Regions from separate parts of the Homo sapiens genome. Here region 1 is linked to region 2. Evidence: promoter capture Hi-C in 16 types of primary human blood cells and fetal thymus (Javierre and others, 2016). All regions are on one chromosome and are shown on one strand. Each heading gives the region's core, a stretch centred on a gene start or on the middle of the fragment in contact. The rest is flanking DNA. Distances are from core to core; before and after follow the strand shown. Region 1 overlaps LOC107985242 (a long non-coding RNA gene). Region 2 holds the start of RGS1 (regulator of G protein signaling 1).

What was found. Contacts are between HindIII fragments. The CHiCAGO score rates a contact against its expected background, and 5 or more counts as called.
Region 1: a contact is called between a fragment that was not itself captured here and the fragment with the promoter of RGS1 in region 2, in 4 of 17 cell types (non-activated CD4 T cells, total B cells, total CD4 T cells and 1 more). The highest score is 9.5, in non-activated CD4 T cells.

What each region holds. Positions count from the first base shown.
Region 1 is chr1:194,292,167-194,297,405 of GRCh38, reverse strand. All of the region lies in intron 2 of LOC107985242 (a long non-coding RNA gene), which reads left to right. It overlaps LOC105371670 (a long non-coding RNA gene), which reads left to right. Exons shown (of 3, transcript XR_922390.2): 2 at 4,978-5,053. Among named protein-coding and RNA genes, the nearest start is that of LINC01031, 990 kb to the right of the region's middle. The HindIII fragment of the contact is 3,033 bases long and covers 1,981-5,013 here.
Region 2 is chr1:192,571,999-192,577,892 of GRCh38, reverse strand. RGS1 (regulator of G protein signaling 1) reads right to left here and starts at 2,120. Exons shown (of 5, transcript NM_002922.4): 1 at 1,964-2,120; 2 at 1,528-1,608; 3 at 1,058-1,119. The coding sequence starts at 2,100. The region is part of intron 3 of LOC105371664 (a long non-coding RNA gene); the gene reads left to right. RefSeq lists an enhancer at 2,196-2,275. The HindIII fragment of the contact is 3,705 bases long and covers 1-3,202 here.

The DNA of each region.
Region 1 (5,239 bases), core at 2,248-4,747, 1.7 Mb before region 2:
TGCAGTGATAGGCCCATCAGCATTAATTCCCATTTATAAAGGTTGAGTAGCTTCTGCCGCTCCTAAAGATTCAACCTGTCAGCAACAGAGACCAATGTAGCTATGTCAACATGACATTATATTTCAAGGAAACTAAAATGACACTTGGCAGCAAGTCAGCTACATTGGGACCTTTCTGTCTTTGATGTGCCAGCAGTTTGTGTGGGGATTTGACATTCCTTCTTGAAGAACCCCAGTCAGCACACTATTCAGTGGCTTATGGAATGCCTCATGCACAGTCACAGAATCCTACACAAAATAGCATCTGAACAGGCAACCCACTTCATGGTGCAGAGGTGTGTGAGTTGGCCCATGACTGTGAGATCCACTGGTTATATCATATACCACACACTCCACTAGTTATCCTCCAAGAACATTGAAGTATTCTTCTAGAGGCAGAATTGGAGCACCAACTCAGAGGCAACACTCTCCAAGGATGGATTTTTATCCTTTGTGCATATCCATTAAGTCAAAGAACACTCCACCCACCACCCGCCCATATAGTGTTCTGTCCTCAATGGGAAGAACAGATCACTGCAGAAAGCAAGGAGTAGGAATAGAAGTAGCCCCACTTCCGTTAAGTCCCAATGACTCACTGCATGATTTTATCCTCATATTTCTTGATTCTGCAAGGTTGAAGGTCTTGGATCATATTCTTGCCAGGGACCACAGCAAAGGTTTCATTAAGGACAAGCCATTGAGGTCTTGACAAATCAGAGAAATTTTGACTGCCTGGGTTCTGGGACCAGCACTCAAAAAGAAGAGTCAGTATCTTGTCAAGGTAATTAACCTTGATCACCACAATAAGGTAGGACTGTTTTTAAAGATGACTCGGGAAAGAAAGTGTAGGCACTTCAGTTGATTGACTTGGCTGCCTCCTAGTAGTCCCTTGCTCCTTTATAACTGTGAATGAGTATGTATAACAACTCTAGCCTGAGAAAGACGTGATTTCCAAGGGCTCAGAATGAATGAGTCACCCCTGAACTATTGGGTTTTAGTGGAGCCAATCATCATAATATCATCAAATCATCCCTGAAAGAAGTCTCACTTGCACATCTTAACCCACTCATTAATGGCACAATAACAAGACATTTCAAGTTCCCTGTAGCAGCACAGTAAATGTGATGGATATAGATACAGATACTTCCATTCTCTCATATACCTCTTTTTCCAAATATAGCAAATCGAATGTGTGGTCCAGTCCTCTCAAGAGAACCGGATTATACAGCCACTTGAGCATTGTTATCCAAACAAAGCCTTAAATGTTTGTATACTCCACTTTCCCTCCTGCCCCACTGTGTCCCTACCATGACTAAAGCTTTTGGTCTCTGGAATTGGAGGGACTTTGGATCTACCTTTATTATACAATCTCCCTAAAGGATAGTAAATCAGGATGTGGTGGTTCAGGGCCAGGTAGGAGAGGTGCTGAAAGGCTAATTTATCCTAGGGCAACCAGTTAACTTCTCAGTTCCTCCAGTAGGAGGAGACCAATCTCCATGGAGGAACCTCTGTTATGACATAGCCTATGTAAATCCCCAGACACATCAAGCAAATGCACCTGCCTTTTGACATAGGTAGTTTATATTTCCCTTCCTGATGTTGGACCAGAGTACTTCCCGGTCTCCATTTTTATAGGAGAACAAGCAAAAATCATGGTACCATTTGGGCTGCTTATTTCAATCCTACCTCTTACCTTTCAGTCTATTTATTTACTTACTCCTATTTATTAACTAGTGCAGCACTCAAGATCCACTTATTCTGCCCCATCCACTGTCTTCCAACACTTGAGCAAGAGCAATTCATATCACTGAAACTGGCACATAAGGCCCTTGTCTTTTCTCCTCTGGGAAAAATAAAAAAAAGTTTGTATATCTCAACAACCCTCCCCTTGTGTCTGTCAGGAAAGTGCTCCAACCTCAAAGACAAAGGCAGGACTAAGCTTGCCACAACTCCAAAGGCATCAGTGAGACTTGGCGAATAATAGGAAGTCTGCATATTAATACTCACAGCAGAAACATAAACATGGTTATATCAGTTCTCCCCTTCTCCAAGTCTCATAAGGTATCTCAGTATCCCAGATGAGACTAAAAGAGTGCATTGTGATGCAGCTAAAGAACTGAGGGCCGAAGACCTAGCATCTTTTGTGGCAGGCAGCAAAAATGACAGTTTCCTTTCTAGTGAGTGGACAGTTATACAGTAGCCATGCTGTGCTGGTCTTCACCTATTTGGTTGCCACATAATTAGATACAGAAACTGCTCACAGTCAGACAGTGGTTAGCCATTTGCAATTTGGCACACTTGACAAGGACATACAGGAATGCTCGGGGGATATGGTGAACTGCCTCTCCCAATAAGTAACTGCTTCCAAAACCTGCATATAGAAGTAGATTTGTGTTGTATGAAGCATCGCCTACAGTGGCCGAGAAAATAGACCACACAGTTCTCTATTATTGGGGTAAAATCGATAGTCACTGCTGCTGCCTTCCTCGGATCCATCATTTTCAAATAGAGACCACCCTTCCTGGGCTCCTTCTAGCCAACAACTGGGCATGCTGGTAGTAATAATGCAGACTAATTTCTGAGAGACACACAACTCTGCCAATGGAAGACTTTAGCTCAATGACTCTTTATATGACTGGCAGAAATTTTCTTAGAACCGCATTACAGTCTGAGACTCTCCACACCAACTCTTCCTTCCCTTCTCCTTCACAGGGGTCAAACCTACACATCATGATCTGCAAGCTCACCCTCCTTTCTCTGCCTCTCTCCTCTATCATCAACCAGTTGTTTCCCCCAATAAGTCTTTTGTATGTCTAGTGCTATGTTGGGTCCTGCTTCCTAAGTGGACATAACCTAGCACATCTCCTGAAAGACAAAGAGGAAGATGTCATCTTCTCTGATGGAGACGATTATCAGATGTCTTTACCATGAAGAATAGTAATGTTTTACTAAAAGCTAGAGAGCAGCTTATGTAAGCCAAGTGAGAGAGTCATTAGTAGGGCCCACAGTACCTATGAGGAATGAGTGAAGGGGTTGGTCAGCACTATTCATGTAAAGAGAACAGGCCACAAGTTACACCAGTCCAAATGTGCATTTGCCTGGGAAGAGGTGGTGGTTAGGCCAGTGGCCCTCAGCAACAGCTCTCAGTGTCTCAGATGGGCTGGGCCAGACAGAGCACAGCAGAGAAAGCACAGCAACCAGCATGAGATCCAGCCATGCTGCCTCCCACAGCCAAGAAGACCACACTTTTTTCTCAATGCCTAATGAGAAAATGAAGAGCAGGAGAAAATAGTCTTGGAATGAAAACTTGCATGGAATTTAGTTGTGTATCTTTTCCTTTTCTACCCCCGCCAGCCTCCTACTTTGGGGATCAGGATTTGTAATGAGACTGACTGTACCAATTAGAAGAAACACATGTTCTGTTTTCTTTTTACAGCTTTGGAGTGAGTCAATTCCTGAAGTTAGTAGAAAATAGATTCCAAATAGTAAGATATTATATATGTGTATGATTTGCACGTCTTTCTGTTGCAGGATAGTATTTTACACTGATTTTATTGATTGCTACAACTTTCAAATTCCTTAACTTGATTTCAAGACATTCCATAGTCTTGTCCTACCCTACGCATATCTACTTTTATCCAAATATCCTACATATTTTTTTCACTACTGCCTAATGGAGTCTTTCTGGCCATGTTGGCCTCATTACTGTTTCATAGACATAATAAGCATATGGTGCATAGGGTATACAGCCATAATCACTTAACTTGCAGCCAGAATGTTTTCATTTCAATTATGCAAACATGCATACAAAAGTTATGAACTAAGGATGTTACTGAGCTTCAGATCACTTTTCTAAAGAAAAGAAATTATAATACTTGCCTCCTTTATTGAGTTGTTGTAAAGACCAAAGTTAAACAAGAAAAAGCATAAGCAAATACATTATAAGTTGAAAATGCTATGTAACTGTAATTGTTATCAGTAAATATCCTCTTGTGTTTTTTTAAAACTTTGTGGACCCAATCCGTATATCAATGCCCAACTCAAGTTTTACATAATTCCTGGAGACTGCCCTTTCATATGGAGAGCTTCAGAAAACAACAGTGCTTTCCCCAACAATAAATTATGCGAGGAACTTAGGGGATAAATATTCCGGAGATGAGTTACTGTACAGCCTGGGTGGAGGACCCTCATGTGGTCTCTATCCTAGCAGCAACTGGTAACTCACTAGAAATGCAAATTCCTGGGCCCTATCACAGACCTACTGAATCAGACACTCAGGAGGAGGGAGCATGGAGTGAAGGCCAGTGATCTGTGTGTTAACACACCCTCAGGGTGATCCTGAAGCATAATAATCTTGAAAACCCCTGTTTTTGGGTATGAGCATTGAATATTTGTTCATCATTTCATCTTCTACAGTTTATACTGTGGCTAAACTATTTGAGGGTTTCAATAAAAGATTTTTTTTCTCTGCAATATCTGATGATCTCAGTCTTTGGGTCATAGTATGAATCATACAATTTACGGATGTCTTTACTCTCTTTTACTCTCCCCTAAAATTTTCTAGGACTAAAGATTATTGAATACAAATAAAGATAAATAAACAAATAAACCTTAACAAGATGAGGAAAACAATCCTCTAAATTCGTATATCTAGTCATTACCAGAATATTTCTGACTGTATTCACATATACTTTCACATTATATGTCCTTAAGTGTTTCTTTGTACAATTTATTTTTAGCCATATTACTGCAGCAGAATTGCAAAGCCTCAAAATTTGTATAAGCAGTAATAATTCTTATTTTTATATAATTATTTTTATAAGTTAAATGAAACACCTATCCTATATGTAGATTAAAAGATTAAATAATAGCCCTTACAATAATATTAATTATTTACTTACAGTTAGTGATTGATAATATTACTTGTATATATTCCAGACTTACAGAACATTTTTCCTGAGAGATGATCAAGCTTCCATGGGTTGTTTTCAGTCCTGGATTTATAATTCCAGAGGTATAGAAAATATTGTTGAATGTTATTATTTACTTCAGAATTTAACAGTAAATACACGTTTTAGAGAGTGAAGCGTAATTAAGTAAATTCCCTAGATGATGTCAAAAATATTAATAGTCCATGTATGTTTAATTATATGAATGCAAGTTCTGTTATTTGTGTGAGAAAATTAAAACAAATGTTACA
Region 2 (5,894 bases), core at 871-3,370:
CCAAATCTTAGCCAGAGTAGAGAGTATTTTAGGAAAGCAAACACTGACAAAAGGCATTAACATCACAATAATTAGTAAATATAATTTCCCCATCTAATTTATATTAGCCAGAAAATGTTAGGCCTATATATGATCTGTAGGCCTGATGTACTAATTATGTTTGCTAGCATTCACTGAGACTTTTATATGGCACCATTTATGGTCCATATCTATACCATTTATTTGTTTAGCTGAATTATAAACAAAGTCAGCTGAGCTAGAGTGAACAATGTGATTCCCAAGTAAAGCTCCTTAGGGTGTCTGTGGGGAGAAAAGAATAATCTCACTCTTTAGAGATAGAGACCACACTGCTCATCTACACCTCTGAAAAAGGTCCTAATCTCAGTAGAATTGTAATGCCCAAGACAAGGGGATGGCAAGCTGATTTCATTCTTTACCTTCTCTCATCAGAAAATCTCCACAAGACTATATGTGCTTAAAAATCCTTCTATCATATTTATGTCATAAAAACTATCATGTTATAATAATGCAATTATTTATGTTATGTATCTCAACCACCTTCAAGGCAGTAAGAGACTGTCTTTGATTTTGAATCCTTGGTACCTCTACAATGTCCTCTACATAAGGGTGAGATGAATGATGAATGTATGAAAGATAATTTAATTAATTGAATGAATGAATCATACTTGTTACATCCAAGTGTAGAAAAATACATTCTTTAGGCAGATTTCAAAATGGCAATGTACATATTAAAATATTTGGCTTACTTTTAAAATTTTTACATATCAGAATCCCAGCACAATGTTTAATTTTATCTCCATAATGATCTATGAAAATACCTAATTGTCTTGGCAAATTTGTCTAAAAGGAGTTGGCAGAATTGAGTGCTAAGTCAGCATTATTAAGAGGCATACTATGCTGAAGTTATCAGTAACTACAGACAAACTAGAATACAACCTTTTGCATACTATCCTACCCAGAATACTATATTTAGTGAAGCCATTCAATTTTTTAGAGTATTTAGCTGAACCCAGAAACATTCAATAGTTATACTTACTTTGGTTGGCAAGAAGTTTTTCCAGAGATTGAGACCATTGCATTACTTCAGCAGCAGAAAGTCTGCAGGGGACAAAATGTACATACATTAGTCAATTTTTAAAATGTAAGCACAAATGAAATAAGAATGGCTGTTACACTTTGATAACTTCACAAACTGAAACTGTAGTTCTAATAAATATGTTAAAATTTATTCACAAAATGCAAAACTTCCCTTAGAGTTACTATAGTTATGAAAAAAAAAACCTGCCAATAAAATTTGAAAAAATCCAAATAGATAAAGTCCAATATGTGTGTGTACACATTTGTATTCAATTTACATTGGTACTGATAGTCTAATTTTATTTGGCATGTTACTTAAAAGAAATGAAGTCTACTGTGCGCAGTATTTATCCCTTGCTGGGATATAGAGATAATGCATAGGCTTCTCTTGTAAATGATAATGATAGTTTAGTGTATTAGTGTACTTACACATCCTTGGACTTGGAAGATTTCATTCCAGATTCCAGATGTGGGATCATAGATCTCAGGTATGCTTTCATATCCATTCCACTACAAAAGACATAAAAGTGAATATTCATATTTCTTCAGAATTCATTTTATTTGTAAAAAGACATAGAATAAATTTCTCTAAGGAATAAGGCAATACTAAAAATGGTTGATACAACATTTTGCTATAGAACCCATTTTTATGAGCCTGTGTAGAGAAAAACTCCTACCCAATTTAATGCCATATCAAGATTTATTTTTTAATGCAGCTGAATATTACTTATTACTCACAACAGGCAATTAACTCCTCTGATCTGGCTAAACTAAATGCTCACACTCTCTTCCATTCATTCTCAATCCTTCTGCCATTAAAGATAACTTGTTAAAATTCACAAAGTGAGACTCTGAACAAACTTACAAAGTCTTTGGCCTCCTTTTTTGCATTTTGTCGTCTAGAAGTGAATGAGTGGTTCCTTTCAATTCCTTTGGGTTAGCAGAGAAGAACATTCCTGGCATTTTGTCTAACTTTGGAGTGGAGATGGCTGCTGCGCGCATGGTGCTCTTAGCAAATATGCGCTAGTCAACGTCTCTGCTGCTTTATATAGTAGAATGCAGACAGGCACTTGCTGTTTAAAGGAGTCTGTTTATCAAGTGATGTTACCACAGACACTGGAAGTTCCCCTTTTCTTGGTGTGCTGTGACGTGTATCTTGAAAAAAAAAAAGCATACAGTGGTGTCTTGTGGTTGAAACTTAACCAAACGAGAACAGGTCACTTGATTAGAAAGAAAGAAAATTAAACATACAGAGGTACACACACATATGTCACATGTCTAAAGCATTAACAGCATCAGTCTTTGGTTCTGGAGGATGTTTGTTTATTTTAAAAAAGTTGCATGTTTCAATAAACTGTTTCATTTGGCGTATTAATTTATCATATAGAAACTCACATAGAAATTCATCACATAGAGTTGTATCTTACTCCATGCTTTGGATAGTCCTTGACTATAAAATTCATCTGATCAAAATATTTTAAGAGTTCTCTTCTTTTCTGCAGGAAGCAGGGCAAAGTAAACAAATAATTTTTGTTTAATTATTTTGCACATATCTGATAGGAGGGAAAGTTATAAGAGGCTATCTTCACATTTTCCCACTCCAATTCTCATCCCTTATTTCCATGGCAGGAAATTTCCATGTTAATATTTTCCAAGGTGTGTGCTAGACATCGACTGGCAATACATAGGATGATTTTAAGGGGTGCATGGTTTTTAATATTATTTTCATATTTATTAAGAATATAACTAGTATATCAAACTTTGATTTTTGCATATTTTGCATATTAGGAAAAAATAAAGTTTAATTAAAACCAATCATAAATAAATAAATGTTTAATTGTATACAAATATGACATAATTTGTAAACATACTGATACCAAGGTCACAGTATCAGAGGAAAAACTGCTCAAGGTAAAATAAAAGTCTATTTGGATAGACCAATAATGTGTACTTCTTAGGTAATGATCTTTCACATTTTGGCAGTATCTCTGGAGAGATAACAGTTTTAGCTTTAATTGAGATTAAAGTTTAAAACACAAACAAAACTCAAGGAACTAGATGACTAATCATTTATAAGGATAGAGAAGTTAGTAAAATATAAGCTTTCAAAAGTTTATATAACAAGTGTGGCTTATTTATAGAGTACCCAGTTTAACTTAAGCCTCCTTGGATTTTACCCCTGGAAGGACAATACTTTCCTTTAAAAGGACAAAAAAGCATTTACTTAGTGAAGCTTCTGATGGTATTAGGTAAAGCTGATAAAAGGGAGGGGAGTATTAATTTTTCTGTTCTGGTTCTATCGTCAGGATAAAGAATATTTGAAGAAAACACATTTACAATATTATAAAATTCACTTATACACAGTCATTAATTTCATTATAATGAGCTCATTATATTGTATGTAACAAGCATCATTTTATGTTGGGAAGATAACATAAGGCATTAAGAAAGATAACTGGTGAGATGAGCTGGCCACTTTGGAAGTGACCCTAATGAGACCGATGAAACTCAAAGACAGATGACATAAAGGCATTTGGTTGTATACTTCCTGTGGTTCAGTCCATACTTAATTTCCTGTTAAAATCTTCAACATTGCTCATGTTTGTTGATCTAGTATCCTCTCACTCCTCTAAATAATTGTGAGTAAGTTATGTTAGAGTAAAATGATTTAAAAATTATTTTTAACAGCCCACTAGTATTATCATCCAAATATACTGACAGTTTCCAAAGAACAAGAGCAGCAGCAAAAATTATGGGGCCAAGTAAGTTTGGGAAATGTTGGACTCCTAACTTGTTAAAGAACTAAACCCTCTTTAGATAGGGAAAATAGTTTTTTGAAATAATGTGTTTTTTTGACACTATGTTAAGAAACTCTGGTCTGAGATCAAAATAAGTTTTTGCCTGTAGTGTATTTAGGAACTGCTCTGATGCTCCCAACATTTTGCTACCCCTATCCCAATATACATTTTGAAGCGCAAGCATTTACAACTGCATGCTTCCACACTTGAATAGAAATATAAACTCTTGAAAGAGGGAGTCCTTTCAAAATTCCTGTATCACAATTGGCTGATGAGGTCACCTTAGTCATGCAATAAAGCAGCTGCTCTCTCAGAGGCTGTTTGCTCATCCACCCAAAGTCTGTGTGTTCCAGAACAAGGCAAATTTGGTCAAGTTGTATCAGCAAGTGTGACAAGTGCATGGCAGGGCATTGAAAGTTCCCTATTAATTTTAAAGAGAGTGCCACTATCTGGCCCCTCTTTGTAAACTTCACTAAGAAAAGATAAACTGTCAAATTGTAACTTTATTGAATCAATGACTTTGGTTGAAATAGTAGAGGATTTCAAAAACGTCAGTAGAAGAAACAGTGGGTCTCACGATCTGGGTTTCAGTTTTCCCTCTTTGAAACTGTGCTAAAACATCTAGGTTTGAGTTTCTAGGAAAAGGAATACTTCATGTAGTCTTAGTGTTATCTTTTTTTTTAAAGAAAAATTAATGGACTTCATTTTTAGGGAAGTTTTAGGTTTACAGTAAAATTGAGTGGAAAGTACAGAGTTCCCACAACTCCCCACCTTTCACCTTGCCTCCAGCTCCACCTCCAGCACCATACCTCGTTAGTGTGAAATATTTGTTATAATTGATGAACCTACAGTGACACAGCATTATCATCTAAAATCTATAGTTTACATTAGAGTTCACTCTTGGTGCTGTACATTCCATGAGTTTGACAAATGTATCATGATATGTATCCATCATTATAGTACCATACAGAATACTTTTCCTTCCCTAAAAATCCCAGTGTTATATTTTAAAATACCTAGGAGATTGGTTCAGTAAGACATTTCAGATTATGGCTGTTGATATTGATAGGAAAAATAAGGAAAATTTTAATCTTTGCTGAACTGATTTGAATGGAAACATTTGGTTTCAATTACTCCAATTACTGGAATACTAATAGGGAGTGCTTTCCTTAAACCTGATGTTGTTTGAACTTTTAAAATGTTGCTAAAATCTTATTGTGGATATTAGAATTGTGAGACAAGGGGTAATGATGAGTATAATATTCTATTTTAAAATAAAAATGTATCCATACTGGAAAAGTCAGTGACGTGGAAAGATAGCTTGATCCATTGAAACAAAATGTTTCGATTCAACAAAGTTTAATTGCATCCCTACAGTGTATCACACATAAAGCACTGCAGATACAAAGATGAATGAATCTCTGTCTTAAGGGGTTCACTGTGTAGTGGGGCTGACAGATGTTTGTGAGAGGTGCCATCAGAGAGGAATGTACAGAGAAAAGAACACAGAGGAGTAATTACCTCTGGAAGTATGAGAAAGGAAGCAAAGTACTGCTGTCTTTACTGTAAAATCAACATGTATCTATTCTTTGCTTGTTTCTGCATTTGTGTTTAGCATCCCTTGGAAAGTTCAAATGGCTGCAATGGAGAAACTGGTCTCTAGTAAGAGACCAGTTTTATGTTGAAGGATCATGGAAAAATGGATCCCATATGTACTCACAAAGCTTTGCAAACTTTCAAAAGTACTCTGAATGACTTAGTTGAATTAGCATAACCACTCAGAGCTTCCTTGGTCTTCAAGGTTTATAGATAAGGCTACTAAAAGTGTTTCAGCTAAATTTCATAGAGTTTATTTGAAAATTTGAAAAAGCTGCAACAAAAGTGAGTTTAGAAGGATTTTTCTCTGTATGTGTATAGAGGGTTGGTGAAAACTTTATATCGTGTGAATGAAAAGTTTAAACATTTTAGACTTGCTTATGATTTTGTTGTGAAGAAATA